Linked DNA regions of Homo sapiens: region 1 is linked to region 2. The links are contacts of gene promoters, found by promoter capture Hi-C in human tissues and cell types (Jung and others, 2019). All regions are on one chromosome and are shown on one strand. The core of a region is centred on a gene start or on the middle of the fragment in contact, and the rest is flanking DNA. Distances in the headings are between cores, read along the strand shown.

Region 1 (4,466 bases), core at 1,768-4,267, 120 kb after region 2:
CAGATCTCCCAGTTGCCTCTTACCAAAACCTTCACATCTCCAGATTGCCCTTAGGCATGAATTTCTCCACACTGTGTTGCAAATGAAGTCACTGCCATTGGAAAGAGATTAGGAGCTATCTGTTTTAGGGCCTGCTTCTCTCCTGAGGCAAAATCCCGGAGCCAAGGCTCTGGAGCTGTGGGGAAGGACCCTGGAAAGATTCTCTCTGAGAAATACCCTCACTCTAGGAACTGAGCACTTGGTGGAAGGAGGCAGGGGACCGCAATAACCTGAGGCTCAGCCTGCAAGAACTGGGGGATGAGCAATTGGGGCACCAGTAATTTCAGTATGTCATGTCCAAGGTACAGTCCTGTTCCACAAGTAGGGACTAGGTGGAAGAAGGGAGCTCCAACTTTTCGCAGGGCACAGTGGCTCACGCCTATAATCCCAACACTTTGGGAGGCCGAGGCAGGTGGATCACCTGAGGTAGGGAGTTCAAGACCAGCCTGACCAACATGGAGAAACCCTGCCTCTACTAAAAATACAAAATTAGCCAGACATGGTGGCGCAAGCCTGCAATCCCAGCTACTTGGGAGGCTGATGTGGGAGAATCGCTTGAACCCGGGAAGCAGAGGCTGCGGTGAGGCGAGATCACACCATTGCACTCCAGTTTGAGCAACAAGAGCAAAACTCCGTCTCAAAAGAAAAAAAAAGAGAGCTCCAACTTTCAATTGCACTCACACAGGTTTTAACCTCAGCAACAAGTAGCTCTAGGTAGGATGAGAAATGCTGATGTCCTGCTTTTCCTGGGAAGAAAGCATTTGATTGGGAGCTGGGGGAGCAGTGCCCGGTATTACAGTTTGCAATAGTCTGGAGTAGAAGCTCCACCTCACTAAGCTAGGAGTGAGTAAGGAGGGAATGATCTTGGTTCAAATACCATACCCTCTCATCTTTCTTACCGAATTTGTAGATTTTCTTGAATAGGTGTTTTTTCATTTGTTGTTTGCCCTCAGGACCATTGCCGGAGGGTTTAAATAGTTGATTTTAAAAAAAGAATTTTTGGGCCAGGCGTGGTGGCTGCATCTGTAATCCCATCACTTTGGGAGGCCAAGGCGAGTGGATTGCTTGAGCTCAGGAGTTCAAGATCAGCCTGGGCAACATGGCAAAACCCTGTCTTTACAAAAATTAGCTAGGTGAGGCTGGGCGGGGTGGCTCACATCTGTAATCGCACCACTTTCCCACCACTTTGGGAGGCCCAGGTCGGCTGGTCACGAGGTCAGGAGTTCGAGATCAGCCTGCCCAATATGGTGAAACCCTGTCTCTACTAAAAATAGAAAAATTAGCCAGACGAGGTGGCGCACGCCTGTAATCCCAGCTACCTGGAAGGCTGAAGCAGGAGAATCACTTGAACCTGGAAGTGGAGGTGGCAGTGAGACAAGATCGCGCCATTGCACTCTAGCCCGGTGCACTCTGGGTGACAGAGCGAGACTCCGTCTCAAAAAAAAAAAAAAAAAAAAAATTAGCCAGGTGTGGTGGCACACGCCTGTGGTCCCAGCTACTCGAGAGGCTGAGGCAGGAGGACTGATTGAGCCAGGGAGGTTGGTCAGGGTTGCAGTAAGCCATGATCACACTACTGCATGCCAGCCTCGGTGACAGAGTGAGATTCTGTCTCAAAACGAAACAAAACAAAAAAGAATTTTCACCAGTTTTACAGAGGAATGGGTTCCTTAAGCTGTCATGCTGGAAGCTGATCTTATCTAAGGCTGCTTTTGTGTTACAATGGTAGAGTTGAAGAGTTGAATAACTCCAACAGAGATTCTCTAGTCTACAAAGTTGAAAATATTTACTATGTGGTCCTGTACAGAAAAAGCATGCCAACCCTTGCTTACTGCTGCCAATGCTGCTGGTCCACAAACCACACTTTTAGCAGCAAGAACTTAAATTACTTGAGAAGCAGTACTGTACGGGCTGTGAGCTTGGTTCAAAACCCCACCTTGCCATTTACTAGATAAATGGGTTTGTTCTGAGGATTAAATGTGCAAATGTCTAGCACTTTGAAAATACTGAACAATTGATAGCTGTTATCATCATGTTGGAAACTATGTGGAAAGTAAGTATGAGATGTTATATCGTTCTTCAAAGGGTTTTTTTTCCCAGAATATGCAAGCTTTAGAAAAGGGAAACAAGTATTGGCTTTCCAATAAACAAGACGCAACTTCTAATACCTGGGTACATAACAATATTACCTAATGAAAGAATAAACTTTCAAGCTTTTAAGCGTAAGCCTAACTTAAGCCTGACACTGAAATCCTGAATTTTCTATCACAGGAGCATCCAGCTTCTTCCAATAACAATGAATGAAAATAACCTTCAGGAAATGCCAAAACCCAAAAGTCCTATGAAAAAAAGCAGCAATCATCTTTAACATGAGGTTTTGGGCCTAGTTGGCCCTTCCGGTTCTGCCCGTCTCTAGCTACACCCATAAGATGATATAAAGAGAACCTCTCGAGCTTCCACCTCGACTGTCACCGCAGCAGTCGGGGCTGCCGGCCGGTTACCTCGCAATTGAACTCCATCTCGGCGTCCATGGTGACGATCCTCACGGTGAACGTCTTGGGTTGCTTCCTCTTGAGAGAGCTGAAGCTCATGCGGGAAGCGATGGCCCCGGCCATGGCGCGGGGCTCAGGCCCGGGACCCTCGCGCCCCACGGCCTGCACTCTGAGCCCTTTAGCCCCCCTGGAGTTGCTGCACAGGCCTCAGGGCCACCATGGTGGCCGGCTGCCCGGCCCGGGAACGGTCTGGGCTGCGCGGGTCCCCAGCGGCCAGCATGGGCCGCGAGGACCCTGCCTGAGCGGAAAGGGGAGTTGGGGGACGGGCCCTGACGGCTGCAGGGAGGGCACAGGAGCCGGGACCTTCGGTGCAGGCGCGACCCGGCACTCCGGGATTCGGGCCGGAGATGCCGGGGACGCCTCGGGACGGGACCCCTAGACGGCAGCGGCCCAGACTCCGCGCGCCTCTCAGCGGCCGACTAGGGTCACGGGGCCGCGCTGCATCGGGCGCGTACGCGCGCGCGTGGCTGTCACCGTCCTCACTCCGCGCGCCCGCGGGAAGCGCACCCTCCCCACAGCCCGGGGCCTGCTCCCGGCCCCGCCCTCAGGTCGCCCAGACCACTACGCGCAGCGCAACCGAACCGGAGGCTGACGCATAGATGCTGCGATTGGCTGGGAAGGCCAAGGTAGGCAGGACTTTCCCGCTCCGTCCCGCCTCCTTTGGGGTGACTCCACCAATGGAAAGTTTCACTCTAACTGCAAAAAAAGCAGGCCTAGGCTCGGCGTTGAGTGGCTACAGTGGCAGTCACTCTGAATGCTTTTGTGCCTACTCTAACAAGACTGGTTGAGGCGGCGGACCTCTGCTGACCTTACCCGGGAAACCACTTAGAGGCTGGATCCGGGGCGAGGGGAATTGGGTCCTTCGTTGGCCCAGGGAGGGACTCTTCGGTTCAAGTAGGCTCCGAGTGTGGCGCCCCAGGGGACTGCGTTTCGGACACACGGCGAATATTCTTCTTTGGCAGTTAATCACATATACCGACCCCTATGAAACTTTAAAGACACTTGTGGAGGCCTGTTAGGTTTGCTGGCACTTTCCCGCCAGATCCCTCTGCTTCCCTTTAGAATTATTATTATTATTGTTATTATTATTATTATTAATTATTATTATTATTGGGACGGAGTTTCGCTCTTGTTGCCCAGGCTGGAGTGCAGTGGCGCGATCTCGGCTCACTGCAACCTCCGCCTCCCGGGTTCAAGCGATTTTCCGGCGTCAGCCTCCCGAGTAGCTGGGATTACAGGTATGCGTCACCACGCCCGGCTAATTTTGTATTTTTATTAGAGACGGGGTTTCTCCATGTTCGTCAGGCTGGTCTCGAACCTCAGGTGATCCGCCCGCCTCGGCCTCCCGAAGTGCTAGGATTACAGGCGTGAGCCACCACGCCCCGCCTAGAATTATTATTGGTTATACCTACCTCGTGAGGTTGTTGAATTTCAGCGCACTGAATACATATAAGGCTTTAGAGCTGAGCCTGGCATCCTATGAAATTGCTGAATTTGGGTTGAAAATGAAAGCATTCTTTATTTTATACTCTATGATGCCCATTTTTGAACCGTATTCATGTATTATTTATTTAGTGTCATCAAGGGTTCTAACGGGTGTAGGGGGGATAATTACACCTTTCTGTACTTAGATAATAAATTCTATTTTAAAATAGCTCTTAGTAGTCAAATAGGGACAATTTACTGTGTTTTTTCGTTTGTTTTTTGTTTTGAGACAGAGTTTCGCTCTTGTTGCCCAGGCTGGAGTACAATGGGGCGGTCTCGGCTCTCTGCAACCTCCGCCTCCCGGGTTCAAGCAATTCTCCTGCCTCAGCCTCCCCAGTAGTTGGGATTACAGGCACCCGCCACCACGCCCGGCTAATTTTTGTATTTTTAGTA
Region 2 (4,148 bases), core at 287-2,786:
GGTACCCCGAGAGGCCCATCCTCTGGGTGAGCTCAGCCCCTTGCAACAGCAGACATGCAGATCCCAGGAGGCCGTGACCCCCATCAGCCCAGATCCCCCACTCCACTCCATATGGGGGCTCCAGGAGGTCTGGGGGGAGGGGAAACCTCAGCACCTCCCCCAGCCCAGCAGGGAAGGAGCTGGGCGGGCCCCAGGGGTCTCACTGCTCCTCAGGACACACTGTCCCGGACCCCTGCCCCTGCCCTCTGCTCTGACCTCGCCCAGCCAGCGGCCTGCCATCCCCCTGCGAGTCTGAGAGGCAGGGGGAACGGGGTGGGGGCGGGTTTGGGTCCTGGCCTCTCTGCCTTTCCCTTCCAGGCTTGGCTATCGCGACTTAGCCGCCCAGTCCGGCCACTTGTTGTCGCCACCGCCTCCCGGGCCGCCTTCCCGGCGCGCCGGGCTGGGGGTCCCCGCAGGGCTGCAGGGAAGGGGCTACGGCCGCAGGTGGGGACGGGGGCGGCCCCGCAGCGGGCAAGAGCAGGGCAGTCGCCCTCTCCCCTTCTGCTGCTGCCCGAGCAGATTGAATTTTTAAAGCGACACGAGCGGAATGTCAATGCGAGCAGAGAGCCGCGGGCGGGCGCCGCGGAGGGGATCAGGATGCGGGTGCTCCGGCCGGGCCGGCGCTGGGGGCTCAGCGCGGACCCCCGCCCCAGTCCGCCGCGTTGCCGCACCGTCACCGCCGACTGCGCGGCCCCGTGACCCCGCTGCGGGGCCCGGCAAGTTTCCGCAGCGCTGGGGACCACGCGGGCAGGGGCTGGGCCGCTCTCCGCCTGAGCGACCCCCACCGCGGCGCCCCGGGGTGCGGACAGGTCTTGCCGCGGGGCACAGCTGCTAGCTGGGGCGCCCACCTGGCAACCGGCACCTGCGGACCGCCCCCCGCCCCCCGCCCCCGCGCCCCTGGCCCGCGCTTCACCTGGGCGCACAGGTAGGAGGGCCGCCGGGGCGGGGATCCCGGCGGACACTCACCCTCCAGCTCGTCCTCCGGGATGTCCACCGGGCGCTGCTCCGACAGCAGGTTGGGCACGGTGTAGATGCCCCGGTACATCAACGCCGCCGTCACCGGGTGGAACGGCATCTTGGAGGCTCCGCGCCCGCCCGCCCGCCGCAAACTTTGAGGCCGGGGCTCATGGGCCGGTGGCGGCCCCGGGGGCGGCTGGAGCGGGCGGGGCGCGCGGCTGCGGAGGGCGGCGGCGGCAGCGGCGAGGCTGGGGACGCCCCTCCGGGGGCCTAGCGCCCCCGCGCCCCGGGCCGCCGGGCCATGCCGCCCGCTCCCTCGTCGGGCTCCCAGCCGGGGCCCCGCAGGGGCAGCGGGGGCGGCGCCGCTCTGGCCTTTCCGAGAGCTCCGGCTGCCTCGCGCGGTGCCCGCCGCGCCCGCTCCTCGGTGCCCCGCGCGCTCCGCGCTGCTCGCCGCCCGCTAGTCCGCTCGCCGGCGCGGCCGCTACCGGCCCGGCGCTCAGGCTGTAGCCGCCTCTCCGCTCGCTCGCTCGCTCGTTCTGTGCCGCGCTGGCTGCGCTCCCCGCCTCCCCCGCCAGCCGCCCGCCCGCCCCCTCCGCGCTCCCCACCCCCAGCCCGCCCCTTCCCGCCGCCGGCCCCTGAGCGGCCGCCCCAAACCTGCCCGGGGCTCCTTCTCCCCTTCGGCCCCGATTCCCCTTTCCCACTAGGGCTCCCCTCTGTTCACTGGCTCTCCTCACCCTAAGTCTGCAGCCACCAGGACCAGGGAGGGGGTGGGTTGCGGGGGTCCTCCTTCCTGCCCCTTGGCTCACCTTCCCCCATCCACGCACCAGGAGCGGAGAGCCCGGAACTAAGAACTGTAGACCCAGAGAGGTGAGACTGGCCCCAAGCACCTGGGTCCTCAAGAAGAGTCACCGTTTCCGTGCCAGGAGGATCCAAGGTGGGGAAACTGAGGCTGAGAGAGAAGGACGTTGACCAAGGTCACAGGGCAGGAGCAGCAGGTAAGAGCTGGGTACACGTCTGGGGTAGGCTTCCTGCCCTGCCTGTGACTGACACCCTGCCGCTGACCTTGCTCCCCACAATGGGGCCCCAGTCCCGGACCCTTCCCAAGCCCCTACCTTTCAGCTTGCAGAAGAGGAGCCAAAGTGTCTCATGGCCCCCAGGGCAGTTCGGGACAGAGACATGGCCCGGTGCCTGTGGGGTCTGGTGTGAGGGCCTGCCAGTTCACATGGCTGCAGCTCAGACCTAATGTATGTGCAGGGCTTCCCCAGGCCCCAGGGCACGTCGGCACCCCAGAGCTGGGGTGGGGGCAGGTGTTTGAGGGAGCAGCCTGCGTGTGCATATGTCTGCTATCCATGAGGGTGTGTATGTGCCACTGGGCACGTGCGCAGGTGTCTGTGACTCCATATGCAGATGGACAAATGTCGGGAGTGTGTGGCCACCTGTGTGTGCCAAGGTTGTACGCTGGCAGGTCGGGGGAGGTGTGCAGGCCCTGGGGCTGGGAGTGGTGTGGGCATATGGTGCACAGATGTGCATGGGAGGGGGTGACCTTCTGGCCTGGCTGTGGCCCCATCTCTGGGTGCTTCCCTGAATCCCCCTACTGGGACCACCTCCCTGCCCCCTTTGGCCCAATCAGCTAAAGGTCCCAGCAGGAACGCTGATTGCACAGCCCTGCCCGGTCCTGCCCTGCCCTTCCCAAGCTGATTACACTTTTCTGCTTGTTTCTGTTTTTGTTACTGATTAATCGCAGCCTTGTCTCAGGGTCTGGGGAGAAGGGGCTCAGTGAGAGATGCTAGCCCCAGCCAAGCGGGGTTGGGTCAGCCTGGGCCCAGCACTTCCTGGGCCCTGCTCTGGAGGGAGCTCCTAGAAACATCTATAACCTGCGGAGGAGCCAGGAAGGACACCAGCTGTCTGTCTGTCTCCCCAGACCTCTCCGGGCTAGCTGGTTGCCCACTGGGACCTGGGCCTGGAGGTGAGAGAGGCCCCAGAAAAGCTCCCACCCCACTCCAAAGCTCTCCTTGCCCACCTGTCCCATCTTCTGACCTTCCACCGCTAGAGCTGAATGCCTTGAGCTTCCCCAGTGTTTTTGATGGAGCAGAGACTTGAGGAAGTAAGAACCCAGCACCAAGAGCCAGGCAGACTGGGGCTTCTGCATCCACCATCTCCTCACCATGGAACTACAGTCAGGTCCCTTAACCGGCCATAGCCTCAGTTTCCCTGCCTGTTAAGGTGGCAGTGCCACATCCCAGGCAGCGGTGAGGATGAAGTGACATAATGTAGGAAAGGTGCCGGGCATCACCTCCCTGAAACTCTTGGGAGTTTCCTATTAGCATGAACATCCCCCCCAAGGAATAGGAATTAATAATAATTATAGCTTCGAGTATTGATTGAGAGAGCGAGCCGCAGCAGCAGCTCAGTCGTTCCACGTTTACTAAGTGTCCAGGCTGTGCCAGCCCAGGCCTGTCAGTTCTAAATCAGAACCCCTGGGCCAAGGGAGAGTGGGCTAGAGCCTGCTGAGAGGCTGGCAGGAAACCCAGCTCCCAGTGACTCCCTGGGAGGCCGCTGCAGAGCGTGTTGGTACTCGCCCTGTGAAGGGGAAGCTCCTGGGCTTGCTGTCCAGGTGGGTATTTTTTTTTATTTTTTTAGGTGGAGTCTTTCTCTGTTGCCCAGGCTGGATTGCAGTGGCATGATCTCGGCTCACTGCAACCTCCGCCTCCCAGGTTCAAGTTATTCTCATGCCTCAGCCTCCCGAATAGCTGGGACTACAGGCACATGCCATCACACCCAGCTAATTTTTGTATTTTTCGTAGAGAACATGTTGGCCAGGCTGGTCACAAACTCCTGACCTCAAGTGATCTACCCGCCTTGGCCTACTAAAGTGCTGGGATTACAGGCGTGAGGCACCACTCCCAACCCATGGTGGCTTTTTTTTTTTCAAGTCAAGGGAATTCCAGGGGTCAAGAGGAGGGTGGGCAAAAGCTCAGAAGTGTGAGAGGGCCTCTCTTAGCTCTGAAGGGCAGGTCTGGGTCTGGGTTCTCCAGATCTCCTACGCTTGGCACAGGACTGGAATGGGCTAAGGTGGCTGGGGCTGGATGAACATCTGTCAAATGAATGAACGAGAGAATTAGTGAATGAACGACTGCCCGCTCACCACCGCC

The links. Contacts are between HindIII fragments. The study calls those that stand out against the background at their distance.
Region 1: the fragment with the promoter of NF2 here is called in contact with the fragment with the promoter of CABP7 in region 2 in 5 of the 25 tissues and cell types used here (adrenal gland, dorsolateral prefrontal cortex, liver and 2 more).

What each region holds. Positions count from the first base shown.
Region 1 is chr22:29,602,184-29,606,649 of GRCh38, reverse strand. It overlaps NF2 (NF2, moesin-ezrin-radixin like (MERLIN) tumor suppressor), which reads right to left and starts at 3,017. Exons shown (of 16, transcript NM_000268.4): 1 at 2,538-3,017. The coding sequence starts at 2,651. RefSeq lists enhancers at 1-294, 3,502-3,631 and a silencer at 2,672-3,251. The HindIII fragment of the contact is 17,440 bases long and covers 1-4,466 here.
Region 2 is chr22:29,717,391-29,721,538 of GRCh38, reverse strand. It overlaps CABP7 (calcium binding protein 7), which reads right to left and starts at 1,536. Exons shown (of 5, transcript NM_182527.3): 1 at 1,006-1,536. The coding sequence starts at 1,114. It overlaps CABP7-DT (CABP7 divergent transcript), which reads left to right and starts at 1,636. Exons shown (of 3, transcript NR_186695.1): 1 at 1,636-1,991. RefSeq lists an enhancer at 1-227. The HindIII fragment of the contact is 29,567 bases long and covers 1-4,148 here.